2 separate regions of the Homo sapiens genome follow, and region 2 is linked to region 1. Evidence: promoter capture Hi-C in 16 types of primary human blood cells and fetal thymus (Javierre and others, 2016). All regions are on one chromosome and are shown on one strand. Each heading gives the region's core, a stretch centred on a gene start or on the middle of the fragment in contact. The rest is flanking DNA. Distances are from core to core; before and after follow the strand shown.

Region 1 (5,957 bases), core at 2,297-4,796:
AATTGTTCCACAGTCTGCTTGAATTCCTCTACTGAAAAAGCTTTTTTCTTTCTCTGCCACATGGCCAGGCTGCAAATTTTCCAAACTTTTTTTGCTCTGCTTCCCTTTTAAATATAAGTTCTACCTTTTGTCTTTGCTCCCACATCTGAATATAAGTGGCTAGAAGCAGCCACACCACTTCTTGATCACTTTGCTGCTTAGACATTTCTTCTGCCAGATACCCTAAATCATCACTCTCAAGTTCAAACTTCCACAGATTCCTAGGGCATGAACAGAAGGCAGCTAAGCTCTTTGCTAAGGCGTTAACATTGTGTGACCTTTGCTCTAGTTCCCAGTAAGTTCCTAATTTCCATCTGAGGCCTCAGCAGCCTGGACTTCACTGTTCACATCACTATCAGCATTTTGGTTTGAAGTCCAGGCTTCTGAGGTCTCGAATGGAAATAAGGAAATTATTGGGAACTAGAGCAAAGGTCACGCATGTTTTGCCTTAGCAAAGTGCTTGGGTGCATTCTGTTCATGTCCTAGCTATCAGCATTTTGGTCACAACCATTTAACCAGTCCCTAAGAAATTCCAAACTTTCCCTCATCTTTCTGTCTTCTTCTGAGCCCTACAAACTCTTCCAACTTCTGCCTGTCACCAAGTTCCAAAGCTGCTTCCACATTTTCAGGTATCTCTACAGCAATGACTCACTTCTCAGTACCAGTTTTCTGTATTAGGTCATTCTTGCATTGCTATAAAGAAATCCCCAAGACCAGGTAATTTATAAAGCGAAGAGGTTCATGGTACTACAGGCTATACAGGAAGTATGGCACCAACATCTACTTCTGAGGAGTCCTAATGAAGCTTCTAATCATGGCTGAAGGCAAAGGGGGAACAAACATTCATATGGCAGAGTAGGAGCAAGAGAGAGTTGGCGGGGGCGGGGGGGGGGGGAGGTGCCACACCCTTTTAAATGACTAGATCTCGGGAGAACTCACTCATTATTGTTAAGACAGCACCAAGCCATGAGGGATCCTTCCTCATGTTGCAAACACCTTCCACCAGGCTCTGCCTTCTAGCTCTGCCTCCAGAATTGGGGATTCCAATTTAACATGAGATTTGGATGGGGACAGATATCCAAACTATATCAGCCGTGTAGTGCCACCCTCTAACCCATCCTTCCATTTTCTTGCTTTTCCCAGTCCTAACTATACCTGCATATCAGCTTACCTCAAAGTTCTCTCATTAGCTTGTCAATATTTTTAAGATTTTACCTCTTATCATCCCTGAATAATGTTTCCTCAATGAGTGAAGCTAAGATTATGATTATTCTTCTTCAACCCAAGAATTTTCCAATTTAGACCTGTGAATACCACACTTGTGGAAATGTAAAATGTATTTAATCTTTCATAAGTCTGACAAGCTCTGCCATGTTCAACTGATTTGTTGTGTATGTAATTCACTGCCTGAGTTTCAATCTGGATGTCTATATTGAACACTTCAGTTTTAGGATATATACCATTAAAAGGTATGCAAAAGATCCTTTTAACTTGCTGATATAGCACTCAGTAATCAGATGCTGTTCAATTTCCATTATGTCGATGGTGTTTTCAATCCTGTGAACTTTGCAATCCATGCGCCAATGTTGGCAGAAATACTGAACTCTTATTACAAAATTTTCATATCATTTAAAGCTTTAGATTATTGCCTTTATAGTGGAACTTCTGTGAAATTGAGTCCTGAGATCTGAGTTTTAGCCTTGAGGTTGCTCCTGACCTTGAGACATTAATACTCAAATCTTAAAGTTTTCTGGGCCTCCGTGCTGGGATTGGTCATAGTTCAGTTGTTTCCTGTCTTCTCTCTTCTCTTCCTCTCCCAGAGTGCTCAGCCCAGGTTACCACACCAACTTAATCTGTAACATTTCGGTAAGTCATCTGGGCAGGATCCTTGATCCTCTAAGCCTTATGTGACTGATCTGCAAAAAAGGAGATAATAGCATGTACCAGCTGATAGTTATGGTGGCGATTAAAGGAGATCAGGAATGTAAACATTGGGTGCAGTGGTTCACGCCTGTTGTCCCAGCGCTTTGGGAGGCCAAGGTGGGATGATTGCTGGAGCCCAGGAGTTTGGGATGACTCGGGGCTGCCCAGCCTCAGGCTGGGCAACATAGCGAGAACCTGTCTCTTAAAAAACAGAGAGAGAGAGAAGAAAATCAGTCATGACTTACAATGGAAGAAATTATCATCAGGATGTATTTGGAAATAATATTTAGGTTGAAAGACTTAAGCAGGAATATTATTTCTCATGTCCACTGGAAAACACAGTGACATGACTCCCAAAACCTTCAGTCAACAAGTCTGTCTTACTGTTTCCTCCCCAGATTCTAGGGATATTAGCAATCAACGGCTCTCAAATCTTTACTCTTGGTTAGATAAAAGCTATCTTCAACTAATTTTTCTTCTGATTCAATTTGTCATTAAATACACTGATCTAAGAATTTATCACGCATCTCACTTGTACAATTTCTCCTTTGAAAGCATCGAATTGCAACCTTGTATGTGTAACTGTTCCACACATTCAGAAACGGGCCCCTTCAATTCGCGTGGACCTATCTGCTAAGTGGTGCACAGACTCGCGCTCTGAGCCCGCAGCCACGACCTTTAATGCGGGAAATGTGCATGATCCCATACAGCGCCCATCTCAACAACTAGAGGCTGGGTGCACCCGAGAGGGGTATGCCTGCCTTGAAGATATGGAAAAGTTTTGTTTTCGTTCTTTCCACTCCTTGGACAGTCCCTAGTGCTTGCGCGGAACCGGGACGTCTCCTTTGGACCCGCTAATGTCACAAGCCGCCCGAGCGCGCCGCTGCTGGCCTCCGCCCAGACCCGGATTCCTCCCCCTTCCCGGCGCCCTTTCTCGGGCGCCCGGCCCGCAGCTGGCGAGGGCTCTCTGACCGCTCCGGTGTCCTCGCCCCATTTTACTTCTTGGGTCCCCGCCGGTGCCATCTGGTTGGAACCCTCGGGAGGAACTAAAAGTTGGACGTCGCCACCCCTACCCCTCGCCAAAAAATAAACACCGGGGGCTGCCGAGGCCCGCCAGGAGGAAGGCGACGAGGAAAAAGCGAGGACGGAAGGCGGCCCCGGGTTCGCCCCGGCCTGGGCCGCCCGCTTCCCCACCCCGCGCACCGTACCGTCCCCGGCTCCCTGGCTCCCCGACGGCGAGGAGGGCCGCCGCTTCCGCGTCGGGGTCGGCCGGGGGACCTGCGAGGTGCGGCTGCCGCAGCGGCGCGCCCCGGAGCCTGGCCCGGCATTCCAGTCCGAATAGAAAGAGGCAGGGAATCAAATGGAAAAGCAGGAGGCCAGGCCTGGGCGGGCGAGCTGGGAAGGAGGCGGCGCGGCGGGGCCCGGGAACCCAGCCTGGAGCGCTCTGAGCGGCCGGCTCGGACTCACGCGGCGCGCCCGGGCCGCCCCTCCTCCCCGCGCCGCCGGCCGCGGCCCAGGCTCCCTCGCTCCGCCACTCCCCGCCCCTCCGCGCTCCCTCCCCGCCCTCCCCGCGCCGCCGCCTCCTCCTCCCGGCCTCCCTCTCCCAGCCAAACTGAAAGCCGGACCCCAGGCCGCCGCGCTGCCGCCCGGCCTCCCCGCCAGCGCGCCACCATGGGCAGTCCCGGTTTCCCCTTGTAAAGATGGCGGTGAGGGATCGCTGCAACCTTTAGACTAATGACTGTCCGAAACATCGCCTCCATCTGTAATATGGTGAGTGGCCGAGCCGCCTCGGGGTCGCGCCCGACTCGCGGCGAGGCAAAGAAAGGGAAGCCCGAGCTGCACACACGCCCGGTGGCTGGGGCGGCGGGGGCGGCGGGGTCCGCGCCGCCAGAAGTTCCCGGCCCCCGAGCTGGGCGCGCGGCCGCAGCCACCTCAGCGGCCGGGGAGGGTCCCCGAGCCCCCGGCGCCCGTCTCAGCCCCGGGACCTCGGAACCCGCCCGGCGATCCCGGGGCCGCGCTGCTGCGCCCCCCGCCCTCGGGTTGCGGTGGAAGCGGCTTGAGGGAAGGGAAGCGACCGAACCTGAACGTCCCCGGGGAGGGGGTGGGGGATAAGCTGGAGGTGGGGGGCACCCATCCTCTTCTTGCGGTCAAGACAGCCTTATTGGACGTCCAGACTGCCCTCATCTCATTTTGAGTTCAGTCCTTCCGAGGTGTTTAAAATTCACTTTGCAATAGCAATTGTGTATCTGGAGAAATCGGAAATGTAATAAAGCTGTAAAAAAAGTGCAAAATTGTGGCTGGAGAAGTGAACTTCAACCTGGTTTGAAAAAGCACCGTAATTTGCTCCGCATGCCTCAGTTTCCCCATCTGTGAAAAAGGGACAAGGCTCTGTGGCGGTAATATTTGCAGGCCCTAAGGGTGGGGCGGGCTGTGGGCTTGGAGGAGGTCTCCAGGGTTATCCTGCCTGATCCGCTGTAGACCTAGGGGAGGCTGGCGGGCATGGATACAGCCAGGGACATCACTGGGTTCTGATGCAGTCCGAGCCCATGATGCGGTGGTCACTTTAATTTGGGTTTCCCCCATTGCTTTCCCTTTTTCTGTAGGAAGAACCTCCAGCCCTTGGGTCCCCAGGCTGGACCCTGCTGGCGCCTCCACTTGTCAGAGCCTTTGGGGAGCTCAGATTGGAGTAAGGCATTGCTGTCCCTTGCAGGGTGAGATGATGTGTGTTTTGCCTACATTCTTTAGACTGCACCCCGCCTCCCCTCTAGCCCCCTCCCAAGCGGGTCCCCGGAGGCAACACGTGCTCTTACAGTGCCAGTTTGAGGAAAACCTCCCTTGAAGCTAGTAATACTGGCCCCTAAAGGGAATCCAAGGAAGCTTGATGGAGAAGCCCTGGTGTAAGGTGATCTGGCTGCCCTTCCCCCATCACATAGCTTTTTAAATCTTCTGTCCCACATTCTGTTGCAAGATCAACACATGGCAAAGGAGCATTAAGAAGCCTTGTGTTAGCTCAGGGGTGGAATTGAGACCCGCTGGCTTCAGCTTTCAGCACAATGGGACGTGCCACTGTCACGGCCAGCAAAGCAAATGCTGGGGCCTCCCAGAGTGATAGCTGCACAGGTACTGGTTGGTGCCGGGCGAGTTCCATACGGGGAGTGGATCCTAGAGCCTTTCTGTTTTCTCTTTTTTTCCTTTCTCTGCGAGGAGTCAGATTTCCTCTTATTCCTGTGGAGGGGCTGCTTGTGAAGAGGTGATGCCTTCTCAGTTTCTCTCCTACGACCAGTTCCTGAGGGAACTGTGAATCGGGAGCAGCTTGAATACTCTTTTATGTCTGTTGGTGTGGCCGCAGGCCTAAGGATACTACAGGGTAGTGAGGCTCCGACCCAGCCCTTGGTGGTGTTCTTGTCCTGCTTGTGTGTGGTTACACCTCTCTGTGTAGAAGCAGGCTGGAAACTTGAGAGCTAGCATGCCCCTAGAGGAAGCCAGCCCCCAACCTCCCCCCACGCGTCCCCCCACCCACCCTCAGTGCTGCGGGGGCTTTCTGGCACACCTGGGCTGAATGTCACAACGTGTTTCAGTGAAACTCAGTCAGGGAGACAGGGTGTGGGGAGGACCTGAGAGGAGCAGGCCAATACTGCCCTGAGAGTTGACATCTCAGGTGGAGACCTAAAAAGGTACCAAATTTAGGACCATCACCCAGATGAAGTGAGGAACCAGTAATTCATTAAGTAAGGAGTCTGATGTTGTATTTAGACGCCATGTCTAGAGAGTGACAGAGTTTGGGTTCTAATGTCAGACTTCCTGGGTTCAGGTCCTGGTTCTTTTTTTTTTTTTTTTTTTTTTTGACAAGGTCTCACACTGTCACCCAGGCTGGAGTGCAGTGGCATGAACATGGTGGCTCACTGCAGCCTCCACTTCCCAGGCTCAAGTGATTCTCCCACCTCTGCCTTCTGAGTAGCTGGGACTACAGGCACGTGCCACCATGCCTGGCTAAT
Region 2 (5,957 bases), core at 1,333-3,832, 290 kb before region 1:
GTAAGCCATGGTTATTTTATTTACTTTTCTCTGGACTCACCCTTTATGATTTTTCCTAGACTGCTTGTTCCTTTCTCTTGCTGCTTTTCTGAGCTTTTGATCTGTTTGCCCATGTGGATTAGGTGGCGGAATATGAAATTCCTGCTTTTCAGCCATTTTTGACCTACCAAAACAGCAATTTCATTTGGCCCAACTGAATATTTTCAAGTTAAGATTACAACTGTGAATTCCCAAGGGAGCTGGATTGTAGCCACCCGCCCGACTTCCTCACCTTCCAGTGGCATTCCATCTTTGGAACTGAGTGCCTGTAATCTTCTATCATCTTCCTCACCTTCCACAGATTTGAGGAAGATGGGAAGATGAGGCTAAAGACATACTTGATAGAAGAATACAGGCACTCAGACTGGCCTGGTATGGGGCCTGCTTCCCACCCATCAAGCCCGGTCCTCCACAGGCAGGTGAGAGACCAAAGACTTGGGGACAACCTGCCACTGAAGAGGAGGTTGTGGTGACAGAAAGCAAGTTTACTGTCAAGAATGGAAAATGGATGTGGGAGCAGCTCATGCTTAGATGGCAGCCCTCTATGCCAGGCACTGCTCCCTGTGCTGCCTGTGAATGTCACAGCAACCCCATGCCATGAGTACTTGGAATGTCCCCATCTGCCATGAGGGAGCAGAGGCACAGAAAGGTAAGGCAGCTCACCCACAGTTACATAGCTAGTAGGTGGCAGAACCAGGATTTGAACCCAGGCAGCCTGGCCCAGGAGTCCATGGTCTCAGCCACTCCACTATAAAATGGTGTTTGACCAAACAAGAATCAACAAGTGCCCATCTGTCCTTTATTGTACACTGCTAATCTTATTATTTATCAAATATTCCTGCCCAGCCTTTTCATTTCAGTGCTGTCCTGGCATTGTTGTTGGCTTGGATGAAGTAGTTTTTCTGGATAAACTCTAATGTAAGTCCCTTGGTAATTATCTTCTTGATGATTAATTCTCCTGGGATTTTACCACCATCCTCTGCACACTTGTGCAGCCCTTGACACTTGACAAAGCAGTTTCAGGTTCATCTTCTCATTCATTCCTCACAATCCCTGTCTCCTGAATAAGGAAACTGAATTCACAGGGCGCTGCTAAAGAAATGCTTTGACTCCCCTTGACACCACCTTCAGGGGCTGCATGACTTTAGAGAGCGATCTAACCTCCCTGAGCTTGTTTCTTTATTCCTAGATCGGGAATATTCATAGCTGGCAGGGTTGGTGTCCAGCGCTGTCTGTGAACTTGTCTATCTTGTAGACATAGTAGAGGTCCCTTCCCTTTTTGGTCTACTTGAGGCTGGCTATCCCATGTTAGTCCAAATCACAGTCATTGGCATAAACTGACACCAGGTCTATAGGTTATAAAGCAAACTAACCTAGTTACACATTCTTTACTCTATAGTTGGAAACTACTGTAGTTAAATGGCTGCTTTTAGAGTGTTTCATTTGCCATGTGGAGGCAGTGATAGTAACTCTCCCAAGGACTCACTGTGAGGACTGAGGAAGGTAATGCACCGAGTAGTACCAGGCACTCTGTAAATACTCAGATAATGGAGCCATCTAGGTGTTGTAGTTGTTGTTACTGTTATTCGTTTGTTTATACTTTTCCAAGGAGCCTTCATATTCACCCTACCCAGCAGAAAAAGTTGCTGGGCCTATGGGACATTTTAAAGTTATAAACTTTTCTGCTATCTGTGGCTACTAAAAAGATACTTTTACTAGATTTCAAGATGTTAGCATTCATTTTATCACTGGTTCCCTTCTGTTTGGTGACTTTCCCAGGGAATGGTTCAGTCACATGAAGATTTCTATTTTTATCTGGGAAAAGGTGGGGGAGAAGGTAAGTGACATTTAGGGAATGAAAGGATCATCATTTTTCTAATGGACCTGTTTCCAACATGTGTCCCCTTATCTCTAACAGATTGTAATGCTGTAAACCTTTCTGTTCCACACTAAATCATGAGATATGTATCAGGAAAGAAAGGGGCCTTCAGCAATCCATGCTGGGGTCACCTAGATGTTGCCCATATGTGATTACTGCCTATTTCAAAAGAAATTAAAATTTTAAAATTAACTATTGCAGTAATAATGGAAACATTTTAAAGCTTATGTTTACTATTTGTGGGAGAGAAGATAAACTTTTTTCTGGAGTAAAATTAAACGGGCCTTGTTGAACTTACTTGCTTTCTCTCTCAGGAGCTGTCAGCCTTTCTAAGGTGCCAAGTCTGAAGCTATTCATTCCCTTGGAGCAGACCGCAGGGGCCTGCAGAGAGGAGGGCAGCTGCCTTTAGATTGTCCCCCAGAAAGATGCCTGATGGTGGTGTGTTACTGTCTGGGCCTCACGTGGGACCATTTGGGGCAGAGGTGTGAGAGGGGATGGGGGTGTGAGAGGGGATGGGGGTGTGAGAGGGGATGGGGCTGTGAGAGGGGATGGGGAGGTGAGAGGGGATATGGTAGGGAGTGGCTTTGGGCTACTACTCAGACAGACGAACAGAGAGAAAGTAGAAGTGTGGCTTTCCTGCTTTCCTCCTGTCTTCTGCCTCTAGTCCAGGCTTCTCTTACCAACCTGGCATCTGAGCTCATCTCTAGGTACTGTCTCCGTGTACAGATATCACTCTGTGGCCTGCCACTCCATCATCTCTTCGTTCTTAAGATACTGATCACCTAGGGGTAGAGCGCCTTCTCCTCTGCACAGTGTTGAAATGCATTTTTGTAATCCAGCTCCCTTTTTTAATCCTCCATCGCCATTAAGTTTTGCTGCAGTAACAAATTAACCCAAAAAGTTCAAGGACTTAATTCAATTAAGACCTTATTTCTTGCTGATTTTACATGTTCAATATGGCTCAGTGAGGTTTGTGTTTCACATACTTTCTCAAAGATCCAGGCTGATGGAGGCTCAGACAGCTCAAAGCTGCACCATCTTGAGGTCTCCACAGAAACTATGGTGGGGAAAGAAGAGCTGAGCTGGAGGGTCTCGTGTAAGCTTTTGGAGTATCACTTCTTACAGACTCTTGACAAGAACTAATCACATGACTTCTCCTAACTGCTAGGGGGCTGGAAAATTAGGTGGATCCTACAGATAGTCAGTATGCAGATGATGCTTCTGCCACAACACATCCCCCCAAATTTTCAATATAATTGAGTCGATTACAGCTTTCCAATCGTAAGTTAGTCTTTCTAAGGGTACTGGTTGGCTAGATTGGAGTTGTCAGTTTTCAAAGATTTCCCAGTCTCAGGTTAACAAGCCTTCTTCTGTGCTCTTAGACAATGTAGTATGCATGTTGGTTATAGACCTTACCATGTTGCATTAGATTTAGTCGTCAGTGTTTCTGTTTCTGCCTCTCTATGCTTCTCCGTGTCTTAGCCAAACTTCTAAATCTTGAGGGCAGGAAATAGGTGTTTGGAGTTTTTTAAAGAAAAACATTGCTAATACTCAGCAGAATGGCTGGCTCTTTGGTGAGTCAGGGAGGAAGGAAGGGAGGGAGAGAATTAATGAATGAATGAATCAATCAATCAAAGCCACCTCTTAGAGTATGTTAGTCCCAAACTAAACACATCTATTATGGGTTGATTTTACCAGTGTAGTGGGCATCAGTCTCAGGATAAATGTTCGGGTGTATAACAAATGCAACTTTAAATGTTTTTCTCTAATTCCTTTAATTTACATGTTGTGCTCCCATTCCACTAAGTGGGGGAACGGAATTGCTGTCTGGTAATTCCAGGTCCCCCATCACCTTTTTCCAGGGCCATGTCTAATCTGGAGGCCAAGACTGTAAGGAGCTGGTATCTGTTCCCGAATGCTGTCTGTCCTGAAGGCATCTCCATGACACATTTTGTCTCATTGAGCCTCCACTGTCAGTCCACAAGGTCCTGGTGGGCGCCCCCTAGTTCCTGTTTGAAAGGCTTCTGGGGTCTAGTTCACTATATCCCCAAGTCTCTTTAAACTCCATTAGGTCAAGAGAAGCCTTCTTCAGCCATTGAGGAAGGGAGCCCAGGGCACCTTGAGAGTCCATTCTGGGTTTCACCTACAGTCATGCCACATGAGCCACGGGCAGTGCAGGGCCATGGAAAACTCTATGACCTTGTCTGACATGTCACACAGCCATTTCTGCTCTAGGTATTTTGCTTTCCTGTATTTCATTCAAAGGGTAAAACATAGATTCCCTTTGTTCTGTAAACCTACAAACATGTCTGAGCATTCTCTCTCTCTCCCCCAGGGCTTTGCTGCAGAGATGGCTAGGGGGCAGGGCCCCTTTTCTCAGGAATGTAGAACATTTACTTATTCTTTGTTTTCCCATTAGCTCTCCTCTCCTTCCACCCCAACTGCATTCAACACCACCCAACTCCCAACGAAGGGACATATTTCCAGTCTTGGGGACAAGAAGTCTAACTTTGCCTCTTTCAATTTTTCGAGTATCCACAAGCATTACAAACTCAATACCTAAATGACTGAAATGTGTTATAAGGTCAGAAAAATGTGATTTTATGCGTGTATGTAAAACCCATTAATATTTTGAAATATTTTGTTGCCATGCTAGTGCCACTCTCTGGGCAGTCTTCTTTTGTCCTCAGATTTAATTGAGGGCATCTACAGCTTGTCTCATACCCCATCCACAAGTGTCTGCTGCACTGTTGTGTGTACAGATGTGTTTGTTGGTGCCATCGGTCCACCCCTTCTGCCTAGAGTAGACCTGCAGGTAGGTTTGTACAGCACATTTGAGAGGCCTGACATAAAGCCAGGCTTCACATGGCTAGCCCAAGACCCTGTCACCAGAGGCTGCACTTCTTTCTGGATTCTGCACCAAGGTTCAAAAACATCTTGTGCACTCTCACAATTTGGTGTTACAGGCCTGGCTTACTTAAGCCCTAAATAAAAGGATGGAAAATTGTTCTTTCATTGTTTTCCTGGAGCATTAGGTCTGGCCCTTGTGGTTCACCCTTCTGTCCCTGCATGTCCTCAGAAGGGGGAAACGTTGAGACTTCAGCGTGGTCACAAGAGACTGCAGTGCTGAGAGCGGAGCCAGTGGACCAGGAGGAACTGATTTCTCTGTGCCTCTCAGTAACACTGTAGGAAAAACTCTCCTGTCCGTGGGAACCCTGAGGCAAGACAGCTCATGTAGGAAAGAGTTCAAGAGAGAACACCTGTTGGTTAAGTCAAAAATGAAAATAATGGACCTCAGACATCAAAAGGGAAAGTGGCTGCTTTCAGAAACAGCTGAAGCTACAAATGGCTGTGGGAGATGAATGCAATGCATCCATAAAGAACAGGCCTGTGCAGTCCCTGAGCTCCTAGGCTGTACACCCCAACCACACTTCCATAATGTACACATTGGAAAAGATGCCATTGTTAAAATATGGACTTATAAGTCGAAGTATTCATGTAAAATATTTGTGAAATATTTATGTAAAAAATGCTCAGACATGTTTGTAGGTTTATAGAACAAAGGGAGTCTATGTTTTACCCTTTGAATGAAATGTAAAATATGTGTGTGTGCATGTGTATAGTAAACTGATGTCCTGAGAATATTTGAGTGTCCTATAGAACTTATGGTGAGAACATGGAGCACTGGTGAGGTCACCTGGCTTTGTCTCAGGTCCCTCAGAGAGTTGGTGGCTCAGCAACATCTATCCAGTCCAGTCTTGGGGCTGCCTGTCCTATGCTTCTCCTCCAGAAGGCTTTTTGCTCAGAATTTTAACTCCCTATGATGATGCAGGAGTCTTCTTAAGCCACCTCTTAAGATGCCTGCTTTTAATTAATTTGTATTAAAAGAGCCTGTGTAGGGAGAAGAAAATAGAAGGCGGGATGTGGGAGAAAGAGAATATACATTACAACCCTGGAAATAGATGCAGAAAAATAATCAATCCGCCCATCGTTTTAAATCTAGCCTGTCCACCCCCATGAAGACTACACACTGTCAGGA

Evidence for each region. Contacts are between HindIII fragments. The CHiCAGO score rates a contact against its expected background, and 5 or more counts as called.
Region 2: a fragment that was not itself captured here is called in contact with the fragment with the promoter of USP46 in region 1 in 1 of 17 cell types (M0 macrophages); the score reaches 5.5 in M0 macrophages.

The regions. Positions count from the first base shown.
Region 1 is chr4:52,656,890-52,662,846 of GRCh38, reverse strand. It overlaps USP46 (ubiquitin specific peptidase 46), which reads left to right and starts at 3,546. Exons shown (of 9, transcript NM_022832.4): 1 at 3,546-3,732. The coding sequence starts at 3,697. USP46-DT (USP46 divergent transcript) reads right to left here and starts at 3,441. Exons shown (of 2, transcript NR_125363.1): 1 at 3,171-3,441; 2 at 1,349-1,955. RefSeq lists silencers at 3,133-3,562, 3,573-4,092. The HindIII fragment of the contact is 3,165 bases long and covers 1,677-4,841 here.
Region 2 is chr4:52,948,740-52,954,696 of GRCh38, reverse strand. All of the region lies in intron 5 of SCFD2 (sec1 family domain containing 2), which reads left to right. SCFD2-AS1 (SCFD2 antisense RNA 1) reads right to left here. Exons shown (of 3, transcript XR_245255.4): 3 at 3,675-5,957. Among named protein-coding and RNA genes, the nearest start is that of SCFD2-AS1, 24 kb to the right of the region's middle. RefSeq lists an enhancer at 3,480-4,417. The HindIII fragment of the contact is 878 bases long and covers 2,144-3,021 here.